Linked DNA regions of Homo sapiens: regions 2 and 3 are each linked to region 1. Evidence: promoter capture Hi-C in 16 types of primary human blood cells and fetal thymus (Javierre and others, 2016). All regions are on one chromosome and are shown on one strand. The core of a region is centred on a gene start or on the middle of the fragment in contact, and the rest is flanking DNA. Distances in the headings are between cores, read along the strand shown.

What was found. The method cuts DNA at HindIII sites, captures the fragments that hold promoters and counts their contacts. A CHiCAGO score of 5 or more calls a contact.
Region 2: a fragment that was not itself captured here is called in contact with the fragment with the promoter of PIP4K2A in region 1 in 3 of 17 cell types (total CD4 T cells, naive CD8 T cells and neutrophils); the score reaches 6.9 in total CD4 T cells.
Region 3: a fragment that was not itself captured here is called in contact with the fragment with the promoter of PIP4K2A in region 1 in 1 of 17 cell types (total CD4 T cells); the score reaches 7.7 in total CD4 T cells.

Annotation. Positions count from the first base shown.
Region 1 is chr10:22,711,592-22,716,553 of GRCh38, forward strand. It overlaps PIP4K2A (phosphatidylinositol-5-phosphate 4-kinase type 2 alpha), which reads right to left and starts at 2,987. Exons shown (of 10, transcript NM_005028.5): 1 at 2,592-2,987. The coding sequence starts at 2,735. RefSeq lists silencers at 1,723-1,832, 2,133-2,252, 2,423-2,502, 2,803-3,472 and enhancers at 2,633-3,241, 3,242-3,849. The HindIII fragment of the contact is 12,209 bases long and covers 1-4,962 here.
Region 2 is chr10:21,995,052-22,000,013 of GRCh38, forward strand. All of the region lies in intron 1 of DNAJC1 (DnaJ heat shock protein family (Hsp40) member C1), which reads right to left. Among named protein-coding and RNA genes, the nearest start is that of DNAJC1, 6.2 kb to the right of the region's middle. The HindIII fragment of the contact is 6,758 bases long and covers 1-4,962 here.
Region 3 is chr10:22,014,996-22,019,957 of GRCh38, forward strand. No RefSeq gene overlaps it. Among named protein-coding and RNA genes, the nearest start is that of DNAJC1, 14 kb to the left of the region's middle. RefSeq lists a silencer at 1-179. The HindIII fragment of the contact is 917 bases long and covers 1,914-2,830 here.

The DNA of each region.
Region 1 (4,962 bases), core at 1,737-4,236:
ACATGCCCAAGGTCAACAGTTAGAATTTAAGAAAAACTTAAAGCGCAGATTCAATGAGCGTTTTACCACAGTATGTGGAAGATGCTCGTATACAACACCATGCTTGTTTGTTCTTAAGACTGCTGACATATTTATTCTCACATTATACTATAAACTTTGGTGCACAGAAGGTCATATAAAACATTTATCTAATATCAGACATTGTCACCTAAAATGAAATCAAACCAGAAATACATGGCATCTAAGGGTTTTAGATTTCATGTTTATATTACACCTCCATTCTTTTTTCAAAAATAATATAGTAAAGAAAATAGACATTTTGAAAAAAAAGGCTGTGAAACAGACCTTTCTTATGTCAACTCAGAGCCCTCAAAATAAAGACAGTTGGATAAAAATATTAGAGGTGTTTTAGCAATTCTTCCCACAGTAGCTGGCACTGTATGTGCCCAATATATATCTGTTGAATGAGTAACATGCTTACATTTATATGAAATGGAAACTTCACTCCTCTGGTTGTGGATACTTAGAACTGCCAACTTCTCTTGAGAGCAAAAGAAAATAACACCAAATGTACTATTTACAAGTCATACACTATGAAACACTTAAGTAGTTTCAAAATATTTCCAATTAGCAAGAAACTCTAAAACAAATGTAGCAATTCATAAATATAAGGTAGCAACGTAAGTGGTTACAGTAAAACATACACAATTACAAGATTTTTTAAGGCAAACTGGAATTCAGACGAGTTCCCAGAAAGCACACTCTTTTTCGGCAGCATATTGTTGACACTACCTTACTAAATTAAACCCCGAGACAGAAACACTCTCCTGACCAAAACACCAGAACTCCAAAGGAGATAAAAGCACCATAAATATGAGTAAGCACTACAGTATTCATCCTTTTTTTAAATTGTAAGTTTCTATTCTAGTAATAAGGGACCCAAAAACTACTAACATAAATAATAAAAGAGCTTAACAAAATTATACATAACTCTACATTGTAAACTTATTACTTAGGAAAAATTGCATTTCATTTTCCGTAATAAAACTTGAGAGAGGAGTTTTTGGTGCAGTAATGCATGCTCTTGTAACAACTTACATTCCCAAATAGCTAAAGAAGTTGCCAGGAAGTTAAAATGAACTTCAGTGAGTCAGTCATTAAGCTGGATAAAAATAATCATTTCTCAACTTTTCCAAAAACACTCACTCCATGCAAACACGATCGATCCTGATACTGTTTTGCCCTTCCCCCTGCTCAGCTTGGGGAAGAAAAATACAAAAACGATGCTTTTAGGCATTTTAAACAACTTCACTACATTGAGGGTGTGTGTGTGTGTGTGTGTGTGTGTGTCTGTGTGTGTGTTTTCCGAAAAACCAGCATGGTTTTCTGTCATTTCCATTACGCTGAAAAGGACATACAGACATCCATCGAAATCAAAAGCAGGGAAAGCGAACTTACACTTTTCCCCAGATGCTAAGTGACTGCAGTGGCTAAGGTCATGGTCAAAATTCACAGCTCGTTTAAACTTTCCTGGCTGAGCCAACAGCTCCGATCATGTTTCCTGATCCTATCGAAGTGGATTAAAACTGCAGGAGTTTCTCGCTGTCAGATCAGCAGGAGGCTATTTCAGACCCTCGAACCGCAGTCCGCATAGCCCGCAGCGGCGCATCCTCCAATCCCCGACTGTGCGTGACGCTAACCTTTCCACGCGTTCTCCAGCCTTTCCCACACCCCCCACAGCGGGTGCGGCCAACTCGGGACCCCCTCCGCCCGCGCCCGCCGGGACCCCCGCCTGCTGTCCCCGCCCCGGCCGCCCTTCCGCAGTCGGTGACTTCTGCCTGACTCCCCAAAGTGGGGGGAGGCGACGAAGGGAGGAAGACTCCCCGCCAAGGGCTCTCCAGCCCGCACAGCGGCAGGGCGATGCGGGAGAAGCGCAGGGATGCCGCCCGACGCCAGAGCCATATTTACATCGGCTGCTGCTTTGCCAAAAAGCCGACTTGTGCCCAGTAATATTGCCTTTAAAGGAAAAAGAAAGGACCTAAGCACTAAAGCTGCTGCCCCAAATCTGCTCGCGCTCCGGTATCCTCGCCCCAGTGCCCCAGTGGGAGGCTCGCACGCGCCCAGCCCGGGACAGGTACACCTGCCCGCAAGCGGAAGACGCGGGCGCCGCGCGGCCCCCACACCGGGTAGCGGTCGCCCGGACCCGGCCCCCAGCAGCTCCCGCCGGGGCTGACAGCCGAGGCGCCGTGCCCCGCACAAACTTCCTACCTCCCAGGCTGCGGGGACCGACCTGCGGGCGGGCGGGCGGACCGGGGGCGGCACTGGCACCCACCGTGAGACTCACATGCACACGGGACCCCCGACCCGCACCGGGCCATAGATCTAAAGGGGACGCAAGTGGTGGTGCCTGGGCGGCCCAGAGGGCTGGGGGCACGCGCCGCGGGGCTGGGGGCTTCGAGGCGGGCGAGCAGCCGGAGGTCCAGGGCTGACTCCGGCTCCCCGCCCCGCAGCAGCTGCAGCCGGAGGAGGAGGGGAACGAGGAGGAAGAGGAGGAGGAGGAAGGGGACCGCGCGCCGCAGCTGAGCCCTTACCGAGTGGTTTACCCCCCACATGAGGACGCTGAGCAGCGGGTCGCTGGCCCGAAACAGCTTCACTTTCTGCGCTACGAAGTGCTTCTTCTTGGTCTTGGTCTTGCTCGCCAGGACAGAGGACCCTAGGTTGCCGGGGGTCGCCATGGCCGCCTCCTATGTCCCCTCCACCGCCGTGCTCCCGAGGCCGGGGACCCGCCCTCTCTACACCCCGGCCCGGGGAGGCAGCCGCATCCCCCCGGCGGCGGCCCCGGCGCGCCGCGCTCCGCTCCGCCCGCCGCCGCCGGCGCGCTCAGCCCCACTCGGCTCGCTCCGCCCGCTCGGCCCGGCAGACTGCGCTCGGCTCGCGCCCCGGCCCGTATCCTGCGCCCGCCGCGGATCCGCGCTCAGCCCGCGGCTGGACCCGGCGCGCGGCGAGCGGCTTCCGCGTTGGGCGCCGGCGTCATGACGCAGGGGGCGGGCGGGCAGGCGGGAGGCGGCTGCGGCGCCGCGGGCGGGGCACTGGGTGCGGGGCGCGGGGCGCGGCAGCTGGACCGTTAGGCTGCGCCTTCCCGCCCCGGCTCCGCTGCAGCCGGGCCGCCCCCTGTGCGCGGGCGACCTCCGGGCGTTCGCTCCCTGCCCGCGGAGGAGGCCGTGGGTTGCGAGCGGGAGCCTGGGGACCCCGGCTAGGCGTCCCCTGCCGCTCCCCAAGGAGGGAGAGGACAGAGTGGGCAGAGTGAGGAGGTTGGGGAGAGGAGCCCCCAGGCGTCGATCAGGCGAAGGAGGGAGGCTCATGCACTCACCCACGCCACGAGTCAGGAGACCCAGCCAGGTGTGAAATGCTGCAGGGAGACCAGGGCTTCCCAGCACCGAGGGGAAGGACCCGGGCACATTGCCGGGTCAGTCCCTGAAATGAACTTAATACTTTTGTGCGGATAACCGTCTGGCCTTTCAGACCCTCGATATGGGCCTCCTGGAGCCATTCAAGAGGGAGACTCCCACGTAATAGGCTGGGCTGTCACTGCCAACCCACTCCGTGCCCGGGGCAGGAACCTCGGACCTCATCGAGAGCCCTTGGCTTAACCAGTAGAATCATGCCCCAAAGTGCACCTTCTTCCAATCCATCACTATGGTACTTGCCATCCCTGCCTGTTTTCCAGTGCACTCACCGTCCGTGGAAATCTGTTCACCGTCTTCCTCCAGATACACCTAAATGTAGCCCTTATTATGCTGAGAATACTTGGCCTACCTCAGGAAGCTGCCATTCCAAGTATGTCTAAAACCCTGCTGCCCCCATATCGTCCTTGCAGTCGTCATCCTGTGCTATTTACTCTGACCCAGCTCACCAGTCCTCACGGAGTAGGTTCTTGGAAACTGTCACCTTAAGCAAAACAACATATAACAAAACCAAATTTGCCATAGGCTGACATATAAAAAAAGAGTTAAGTTCCTACAGCATTATTTCCGGTTACAAAAACATCACCGAACTTCAAAGTAAAAATTCAAAACACTTCTAATATTAAACATTAAAATAAATGTGAGCTATACCTCTTTTTTATTTTTATTTTTTCCCTTGAGATAGGGTCTCGCTGTGTCAACCAGGCTGGGGGTGCAGTGGTGCAATCACAGCTCACTGCAGGCTCTACTTCCCCAGACTCAGGTGATTCTCCCACTTCAGACTCCCCAGTAGTTGAGACTACAGGCGCGCACCACCAAGCCTGGATAAACTTCTTGTATTTTTGGTAGAGATGGGGTTTCACCATGCTGCCCAGGTTGGTCTCGAACTCCTGGGCTTAAGGAATCTGCCCACCTTGGCCTCCTAAAGTGCTGGGAATACAGGCACCAGCCACTGCACCTGGCCTACCTACATTTTTTAAAGATTGATAAAAACAAGATAATGGTTTGCCAAATTTCTAGTGATTAAGTGAGCGATGGTTGCTGTGGTGCTGGGTTAAGTCAAGGAATAAGTGTTTGCAAAGCAAAAGTTGCCTGTAGGACCTGCTGCTACCATGAAATTCAAAAACAATCACAAATATGGTAGCTGAGTGCACTCCTATCTCATTTATTGTCGTGCATTTTTATGATTAATGTACACTTACATATTTTTATTTTACAGTCATTTGTTTCACGGATTTATTCATTTTTCCAACTCATTTATTCCAGTTCAAGGTCACAGATAGTGGGAGCCTTATCCCAGCTGCTCAGCTTGGGCAAAAGGTGGGAACCATCCCTGGATAGGATGCCATTCTGTTGCAAGACACACACACACACACACACACACACACACACACCACACACACACACACACACCCCTACACTCACTTAAACTGGGACCATTTAGGAAGGGGGCAGTGATTCATGCCTGTAGTCCCAGCACTTTGGGAGGCATGAGGCA
Region 2 (4,962 bases), core at 1,399-3,898, 720 kb before region 1:
AACGAAAAGTGTGGTAATTGAAAATAACTGCCAATAAGATTTGCAATTAAAAAAAATTTTCTAAAAGTCAGAGGTTTCTTTTTAAAGTATAAATTCAGTTGGTCATGGAATAGATTCCTTAACCTGACCTGTTTTAATGGTATAAATAAAGTCCTTAAGTATTGACTAGAAATAAGAAGTTTCTACCTTCCTCATGTGTACGGACCCTAAGATTTCTTCATGGTCTATTCATACTTTCCCAGTAAATGGCAACAATGATCTTTTTCTTTCTGGTCATAACTCATTTTGACTACTGCTCACTATACAGGCCACAGTTGAGTTTCATGTAACAGTTTAAAATTCTATTTCCTTCTATAACCAGGAGTTGTATGTATTCCAGAATGTGTTTAACCAAGGAAATTACGTCATTTTAGAATTCTAGTATTTGCTCTTAGTGGCATCTTAACGTTGCTCTTCTCCATTTTAACACTGCTGCATATACTATGGCATGTCCTTTAATTCTTGATCTTAGATTATTAGCTTTAATATTAAGCAACTCAAATATATTAGTTAACTGTGTAGCTGCACAGAGCTTAATGCCTACTGCCTCAGTAGCAATAAAACAGGCATCCATCTGATAATGAAGTATACTGTTTTATACACATATTCTAACAAAAATGTAGAACGTGGCATGCCCTTGCTTTTGCAATATGCCTGGTTACATGTGAGATTTCAGTTGCTGGATGATGTAATCAGAAACACTTATCAAATATGGTGAATGAATCCTCACCTTGCTTAATTTAGTATTACATAAGATGGGAAATGAAACATAAATTCTAGATTAAATTTCTAATTAGGTCCTTATGACACGCTTAGACAAAAAATTTCAGTAAATATAAGTAATACTCAAATATCAACTATTCAGTTCTTAAAATGAAATACTATGCTGTTATTTAAAACATGTAATCATATTTTTACATTCATTAGTATAGGGCCCATCTTTTACAATTAAGTGTTTTGATGAAAATAAAGATTTTTGAAAATATGACTGTGACTTCATTATAAAATGATCTAGGGTCCTGCTTCATCCAATCAGAAATCTCTCTTTCCACTGCAATTCCTTTCCTTTATTTTTGTATAACTCTGTAAGAAAGGCTTTGGAATTGTTTTCAACTAGGTGGAATTAACTGGTATCATTACTGTCTAAACAGACCCAATAATGCCCACAGTGGAAAACAGTTCTGAAAGTCACATAGTACCATTTATGGAATAAGCAGTTCACTGAGAGAGAGCATAACAAAGCTGAGAAAAGGTTTATTACAGACACTAGGCATTTTATCAAACAACTTTTATTGGCATTACTTACAACTGCCATATAAATTCTCCTCTCAGCAATCAAGTCAAATAACCTCAACCTCTGTTTTATTCTCAACATTGAACAAAATATGATTGTGAAATTAACCACATTAAACCAATCACTAGGTAAACTGGTAACCCATATAACGTTTTAGAATATATTTCTAGGAATAATTGTAATAGCAGAAGCCATTCCACTTTCCCAGTTCAACTTAGGCTATTGTCTATGAATAACAAAAGATACAATATTCTAAGAGTGTTCTCATAATTAGTGTAAAGAAAAAACTGAGAATAGCATAAAAGGAAAAAGGAAACTTAAAACTAAAAGAAAGTCTCTGTTCCATCAGCTCTAGATTATATGTGGCAAAATTTTCACAATAGACTTGCTTTATCCCATAAAATTGGCTCAGGCATCTTCCACTAAACTATACATATCACAAAAAGAGTGTGTACATAAGAAAACTAATTTTATGATAATTCTATCTGATGCAAAGATGTATACAATTAAACAAGTACTTATTCAGCTCTAACGCTATGCATGCCTACATCAGAAATATAAATGACTGAAAGGTTATCTACCATTCTAGATTCTGTGTATCTCTTTCTCCAAATTAAAAAAAATTGGATTCTACAATAAAAATGGGGAAGCTATTATTACACAACACACATGTACAAAGGAATAGACTCCACAGAGAAAGACTGAACTACACTCAACACCACAAGCTCAGTGGATTCCACTGCAAGAATCACTGGACAAAATTGATAATCACAGTACAAATTCACCATCATTCATGAATGAAATCATCATCTTCATTTCTAAAAAGGACTGTGATGGGCTTTAGGGAGGCCCCATTAACTGGTTTTTCCCATCCAAAAAACTGAGTGGACACAGGAGTCGGGCAGACAAGAGATGAACCTTTATAACTGATACAGCTATTGAAGAATACAGGTTAAATGTGATGGCCAAATGGGCTTGCTAGCAATTTGTGCCCTCTCCTCTACATTCTAGACTTTGAGACAGTATGCTCAAGGGTAAGTCTGGTTAGGATAATTGCCTTACTGGTCTGGGCAGAGAGGTGCAAAGAGACTGATTCCCACTACTCATAGCTTTCTGACTGATCAGCTCTTCCTAATCAAGCAAAACAGAGCAAAGGCAATCACCCTCCAGTAAGGTAACTCACACCGCCATGGTAAGATGTTAGAGATGGGTCTAGTGATCAGTGGTGTTTTTTTAGGGAAGTTCCTCCCAACCATGGGGCACGGATGAATGGGCAATAATTGTCCCTCCTCTAAACAGGCTAGCTAATCTGTACATTTGAAAATACAGGCCGAATGAGCTTAAAAGGTTTATTAATTCCTATCTAAAAATTAAAATCCAAATATTTTATAAGCACATCCCTGTTCTTCTGCTTTTCTTCTGTTAACCAAGTTTCAGCATTCATTTGAATATAAGGATTTAGTTATAAAACACGAGAGAAAGAGAATGAAGCACATTTTCTAGCTACATAAATAGAAGTCTGTAATGACTGACTGGCACCATGAAGACAAATCTTGACTTCAGCATAAAGTAAATACTACAAAATTTAAGATAATTTAGCTTGTCATTATTTCAATTCACAGATTTTTTTAAATGAATATGAAGTGTTTACTGTTGGCTAGAATTACTGTATACAAAGGATAAGGAAAGTCATGGTCCCAAAAGACAATTAAAAGAAATATAGAGGCTGGGCGCAGTGGTTCACGCCTGTAATCCCAACACTTTGGGAGGCCGAGGTGGGTGGATCACCTGAGGTCAGGAGTGCAAGATCGGCCTGACCAACATGGCGAAACCCCATCTCTACTAAAAATACAAAATTAGCCAGGCATGGTGGCAGGTGCCTGTAATCCCAGCTACTCGGGAGGCTGAGGCAGGAGAATCGCGTGAACCCAGGAGGCAGAGGTTGCAATGAGCCAAGATCGCGCCACTGCACTCCAGCCTGGGCGACAGAGCAAGACTCCATCTCAAAAAAAAAAAAAAAAAAAAGAAATACAGAATTGCCACTGACCCCACAAGAAGTACAGGTGTCTGAGAAGCAGGTGCTGTTACACAAAATATAAATACTGTGCAGGAACCTATAATTTAAGATGGTAACGAAAGATCTTTCAATAGCACATCTTTTTTCCTACACTCCTCTCTCATCTTCCCCCCATCTCCTCTGAAAAGATGCAATATCCAAATTGGAGTGCCCTATTATTAAAGTCATTCTAAACATGGTATGAATGACTAATAAATCATCTGTATATACCCCCCAACAAAGACTTCTGCAACCCCTTTCTAGACTTCTAGAATGGACGTGAAATCTAAGGATACATGGAAGAAGATTCTTCTGCTGCCTGAAGGCTGTGAAAGATTACATAGAAGTAAAATCTGTTGAGTAAAAACTGTCAAGCAACTACTTGTTTGGGGAATTACAGTTTGCATTTAGTTACAATGTTTATAATGTTTGATTCAATAAATATTTAGGTGTTTACTATGTGCCTTACTATGAAGAAAATAAAAAGCTACCATCTGTCCTAAAAATGAGGCAACTAACTTGTCCAAGGTCATAAGGTGGTCTGGTCCAAGTTCTAAGTCATCTGTTATTCAGATTATAGAGCTTAGAGAGTAACTGAGTTATCTTATACCTGGTGGATAAGGGGATAAAGAAGATGCCACAGACAGTCACTACCATCTCTGCCTTCTAGTTTAGGATATGGATATCTCAAAAGAATGTTCTATATTAATTGTCTCCAATTCTTCCCTTTCATTCTCTCCTGAACCCAATCTACCCAGACTACTGAACTCACCACTTCACCAAAACAGTTCTTACTGAGGTAGCCTGTGACCGCCATACGGTTAATTCCAACGGTGAAGTCTCAAAGCTCATCTTATTTGAATCATCATCATCATTTAACCCAGCTGATCCCTTTGTCTTTGAAACACTTTTTTCACTTGACTGAAGAGAACCTTGTATTGGTTTGCCTCCTACCTTACTGGTCGTTCCTGCTCTATCTTCTTTGTTGATTCCCCTCCATCTTCTTGACTCTTTTTTTTTTTTTTTTTTTTTTGAGACGGAGTCTCGCTCTGTCGCCCAGGCTGGAGTGCAGTGGCACAATCTTGGCTCACTGCAACCTCCGCCTCCCGGGTTCAAGCAGTTCTCTACCTCAGCCTCCCGAGTAGCTGGGATTCCAGGCGCCTGCCACCACGCCTGGCTAATTTTTATCTTTTTAGTAGAAACGGGGTTTTACCATGTTGGCCAGGCTGGTCTTGAACTCCTGACCTCGTGATCCACCCGCCTCAGCCTCCCAAAGTGCTGGGATTACAGGCGTGAGCCACCACACCCGGCTCCTTGACTCTTAAAGTCTGGAATCCCCAAGGCTTATTAGCTCCCAGATCTCTTCTCTTCTCTTTTACGTTCACTCCCTTGGTGAACTCATCCAGTTTTGTGGCTTCAAGTTACTCTCTAAGTGCCTCGGACTCCCAAATTCCTATCTACAGCCCTAAACTTTCTTCTTGTAACTCTACACCTGAATAACCAATTGCCTACATACCAGCTCAACTTCAACGTTTAACAGACACCCCAAATTTAGCATGTCCGTAAACCAAAT
Region 3 (4,962 bases), core at 1,122-3,621, 700 kb before region 1:
TATCTCCTTCCAGCCTTCCTCTCCCTGCACTGGTCTTCCTTAGGAGCACACCAAGCTCATCTGTCTTGGGGCCGTCACACTTCCTCTGCTCCAAAGCTCTGCTTCCTGATCTTTGCATGACTGGCTTCTTCCCTTCATTCAGGCCTGCATTTAAATTTCATCACCCTACATAGGCCAATCCCAATCACTGCAGGGGCCAAGAGAAAACTTTCTCTTCACCCTCTAAAGGCCCAGCTTCCTGAAAACCAGTGGACAAAAGTCAGATGAATAGGAGAAAAGGCATGTGCATGGGGGAGAATCACAGAGTGATTAATTCACCATACAATGGGGTATGGATGGTTATATACCCTTCCTCTTAGGGGAAAGGGAGGTGGGGAAGTGTGAAAGATTTTAGGGGAGTGGCAAATTATTTTTAGGCAAATTCAACAGTCTTGAAGAATATACAGTGGACTGGGACAAAGTCTGTTGGGCCTGCAGAACAGACAGTGGTTTGTGACAAGTCTGTCCAGGTGTGTTGACAGACTTCAGTCTTTCTTCGGGCCCTGTGAGTTCAGTTAATGAAATACACTCAGGGAAGGCAACAGAGGTAATTATTTTCTTTGACAGGCCCAAATTTTAAGCAGATAAGGGAACTTCAGAGAACAGCTTCATCCTTTGCTTTGACAGAGACAACAGATGAGAGACAGAAGGTGGGGGGATAGTCAGAGAGACCTTGAGGCTTCGTCTTCAGTTCCACATGTCTAAGCACCATATTTTGGGATATCTGTTTCTGAGCCCCAACATCACCTAACTTAAAAAAACATCACTACCTTATTAAATCATCTGCATAGCACTTCTCTGCTACCACTTGGTTAATTTCCCTTGTTTATGCATCATTTGTTTATTGTCTGATTTGCTCACTAGAATGCAAGCTCCATGATAGCAAGGACTTTATCTTGTTCATTCCTCTAACTAGTGATTAGCCTACATTGGGCTTTCAATAAATATTATTGAATTTAAAAATGAAGACTCCTGTCTCTCTCTCAGAGTTATAACCGACGGTATTATGTCAGATTCCTGCCAGATATATGACTGTATTACATCAGATTCCTACAAAAAAACAATCAAGTAAGCTATAGTAAAGTATCCAGCTCTAAGTAAGCTACTACTTCCAAGATGACGTCCATGTTTCACTACCCGGGGCCAAGTGAAGGACTTGGTAAAGGATGTGATGAATTGACTCACCGGCTGTATTGATGAAAATCATTGGTTACATTGGTAACAAGTCCAAAGTTAACTCTGACTCCACAGAAACACTGCTTGCAATTACTCATTTTTGATTAGTATGTATTAAACTATTCATGACTCAAAAACAAGTTAGATACTAAGATGGTGCCATAATGAATAATATGTCCAAAAGTTCTTCAATCACATAAAAATTCTCATTGCCATCCTGAGTAAATATAGCCAAGAAATTCTGATTTATATTATGTTCTTCTCAGTTGTGGTAGGACTTGCCACAGATAATTTCTCAAGATTTCCTGCAAGTTCAAGGTCATGCTTTCAACAGACCGAGCAGCAGTATTTTCAGGAAGACAGAGATATGCAAATGCTATGACAATTTTACGTACTCATTAGAAAAGATTTTTAAGCCCAGCCAGTTCTTTGATTTGGTACACAATTGCATTTCACAGAAACAATGTTTTCATTCATATTCAAAAGCATTGTTTGTCAATATTTCAGTTAATGTTATCTTTCATTAGCTTTATCATCACATATCTTAGGTAAGGTCATAGTTGTAAAAAGTTGTTTCATAATGACCTCTCAAGCTGTATTCTTTTGACACGGAAACATTTTGTTTTAAGTACAGAGGAATAGTCTCATTTCCAAAAGAATAATGCTTATGCCCATTTTCCTTTTTCCCTGAAACTTAAAGCTTCATGGTAGGGTTGTCAGATTTAGCAAATAAAAATACAGGATACCTAATTAAATTGAATGTCAGATAAGCAACTATTGCATGAGACATACTTATATGAAAAAGTCATTCGTTGTTTATCTGACATTCAGATATAACTGGGTATGTTATCTGGCCACCCTGGTCTATCTTCGTTTTTCCCACTTTTGATAGAGACATAGGTTGAAATATACTCAGATGGTTTCCAGGAAGTAACGACATCTTTAATACTTTCTTGTTAGTGATCTTTAAATGTTGTCAGCTTTTAAAAATCGAAGTAGGGAACTAATACTTCTGACCAAGATGAATATCGGAAGTCTGAAACACTGAAAAAAAAACTCAGATAAAATAAATGAAATATCAGTTCTCAAGATGTTGGAAATCAGGCCACCGAAGGATTTCATTATGTCAAACAATTAAACAGCAAATATTGACTCAGCTTTTACCATGTCGTAAGTCATTGTATTACAACATGCCACAAACACAAGAAGAGAAAAAAAAGACAATCTCTCAGTCCTTGGAGAATTTACAATTTGGTAGGAAAGATAACACGGATACACACAAAAAGATAATAAACAGTACAAGGAAGTAGGTGGTAAGTGCCAAAAGAGTAACACAGATAAGAGGAGGCAGGAGATCAGTTTCATCTGTGTCTTTGGAGAAACAGTCAAGCTAAAGGCCTCAAAGGGAGAGAGGACAGGAAAGAGAGTATTTCACTAAATGCTTTACATTCATTATTCCATTTAAGCCTCCCAATAACCCTACAAGGGAGTTATTATTATGATCACCAGTTTCCAGCTGAAAAAAGAATGAGCAGGTCTGAGAAACTTAACTATGGCTACACAGCTAGTAAGCAGCATCTCCACCTCCACCAGGTCCTCCTGACCCCAGAGCCTAAGCTTTTAACTACTAGTGCTACCTCTGAGATGAGGGGGGGAGTAGACTGGAAGCTCTACTGTTACATGAAACTCCTAGAGTTTTGAGTGGGAAAGCAAGATAAAATGACTATTTTAGAAAATGAATTCTTCACACACCATCCCAGACATTCTGGATACAAATGTCATTTGATCACATTGGATTGCAAGGAGACTAAAGAGAGTCAAAGATCAGAAACACTGTGAAATCAAAACAAACTGAAATGAGCTGGTGGTTATTTGCATATATAGGCAAGAGAGAAAGGGAAAAATCAAAGGTAAATGCAAGGCTAAAGATTACAGATACACACACACACACACACACACACACACTCTATTAGAACTAGTAAATTCAGCAAAGTTGCAGGATACAAAATAATCACACGAAAATCAGTTGTGTTTCTATATACTAACAATAAAAAACCTAAAAAGGAAATTTATAAAACAGCTCTATTTTCAATAGCATCAATAACAATAAAAAATTTAGGAATAAACTTAACCAAGCCAAGGGAAAAGAACTATAAAAACTATAAAACATTGCTGAAAGAAATGAAAGACAACACTAATAAATGGAAAGACATCCTGTGTTCATGGATTGGAAGACAATATCATGAAGATGTCAATACTATTCAATGTGATCTACAGAGGCAATGTAATCCCTATCAAAATCCCACCAGTGATTTTTGCAAAAGGAGAAAAATCCATACTAAAATTCATGTGGAATCTCAAAGGACTTCAAATAGCCAAAACAATCTTTAAAAAGAACAGAGTTGGAGGACTCACAATTCCTGATTTCAAAATTTACTACAAAGCTACAGTAATCAAAACAGTGTGGTACTGGCATAAGGACGGACATATAGACCAATGGAATAAAAGAGAGAAATAACCCTTCTCATATACCTTACAGTATATGAAATAACCCTTCCCATGTACCATATTGTCAAATGGTGCCAGAAATAACCCTTCTCATATACCATATGGTCAAATGATATTCCACAAGGGTGCTAAGACCATTCAATGGGAGAAGAACAGTCTTCAACAAATAGTGCAGGGAAAACTGGATATCTACATGCAAAATCATAAAGTTAACCCCTTCCTTCACATCACATAAAATATTAGCTTAAAATGAATCAGCTGGGCATGGTGGCTCACACATGTAATCCCAGCACTTTGGGAGATTGAGGCAGATGGATCACCTGAGGTCAGGAGTTCTAGACCAGCCTGGCCAACATGGTGAAACCCCGTCTCTACCAAAAATACAAAAATTATCCCGTTATCCTGGCATGGTGGTGTGCGCCCATAATCCCAGCTACTCAGGAGACTGAGGCACAAGAATCACTTGAACCCGGGAGGCACAGGTTGCAGGGGGCTGAGATCGCCCCACTGCACTCCAACCTGGGCGACAGAGCGAGACTCAATCTCAAAAATGAATCAAAGATCTAAACATAATAGCTAAAACTGTAACTCTTAAAATACAGAGGGATTTGGCAATTATTTCTTGGACATGACACCAATAGTACAGGCAACAAAGGAGAAAAATAGGTAAATTGGAATTTATCAAAATTAAAACCTTTTGTGCATTAAAGGTTACCATCAACAAAGTGAAAAGGCAAATCATATACCTGATAAGGGAGGGATTAATATCCAGAATATATAAAGAGCAATTCTACAACAACAACAGCAAAAACAACCCCCAAAATGGGCTAAGGATTTGAACGGATATTTCTTCAAAGAAGATATATAGATGGCCACAAGCACATGAAAAGATGTCCAGCATCACTTATCATTAGGGAAATGCAAATCAAAACTGCAATGAGAAATCCCTTTGCACCCATTGGTATGCCTGTTATAAACAAAATGAAAAGGAAAATAGAAGTACTGTGAGAATGTGGAGACACTGGAACCTTTATGCATTACTGGTGGGAATGTAAAATGGTTCAACTGCTGTAGGAAATGGTATAGCAGTTCTTCATTCAACACAGAATTAACAAATGATCTAGCAATTCCACTCCTGGGTCTACACCCAAAAGAACTTAAAGCAAGGACTAAAACAGATATTTGTATACCCATTTACATAGCACAATTATTCACAATAACCAATTAGTGGAAGAAATC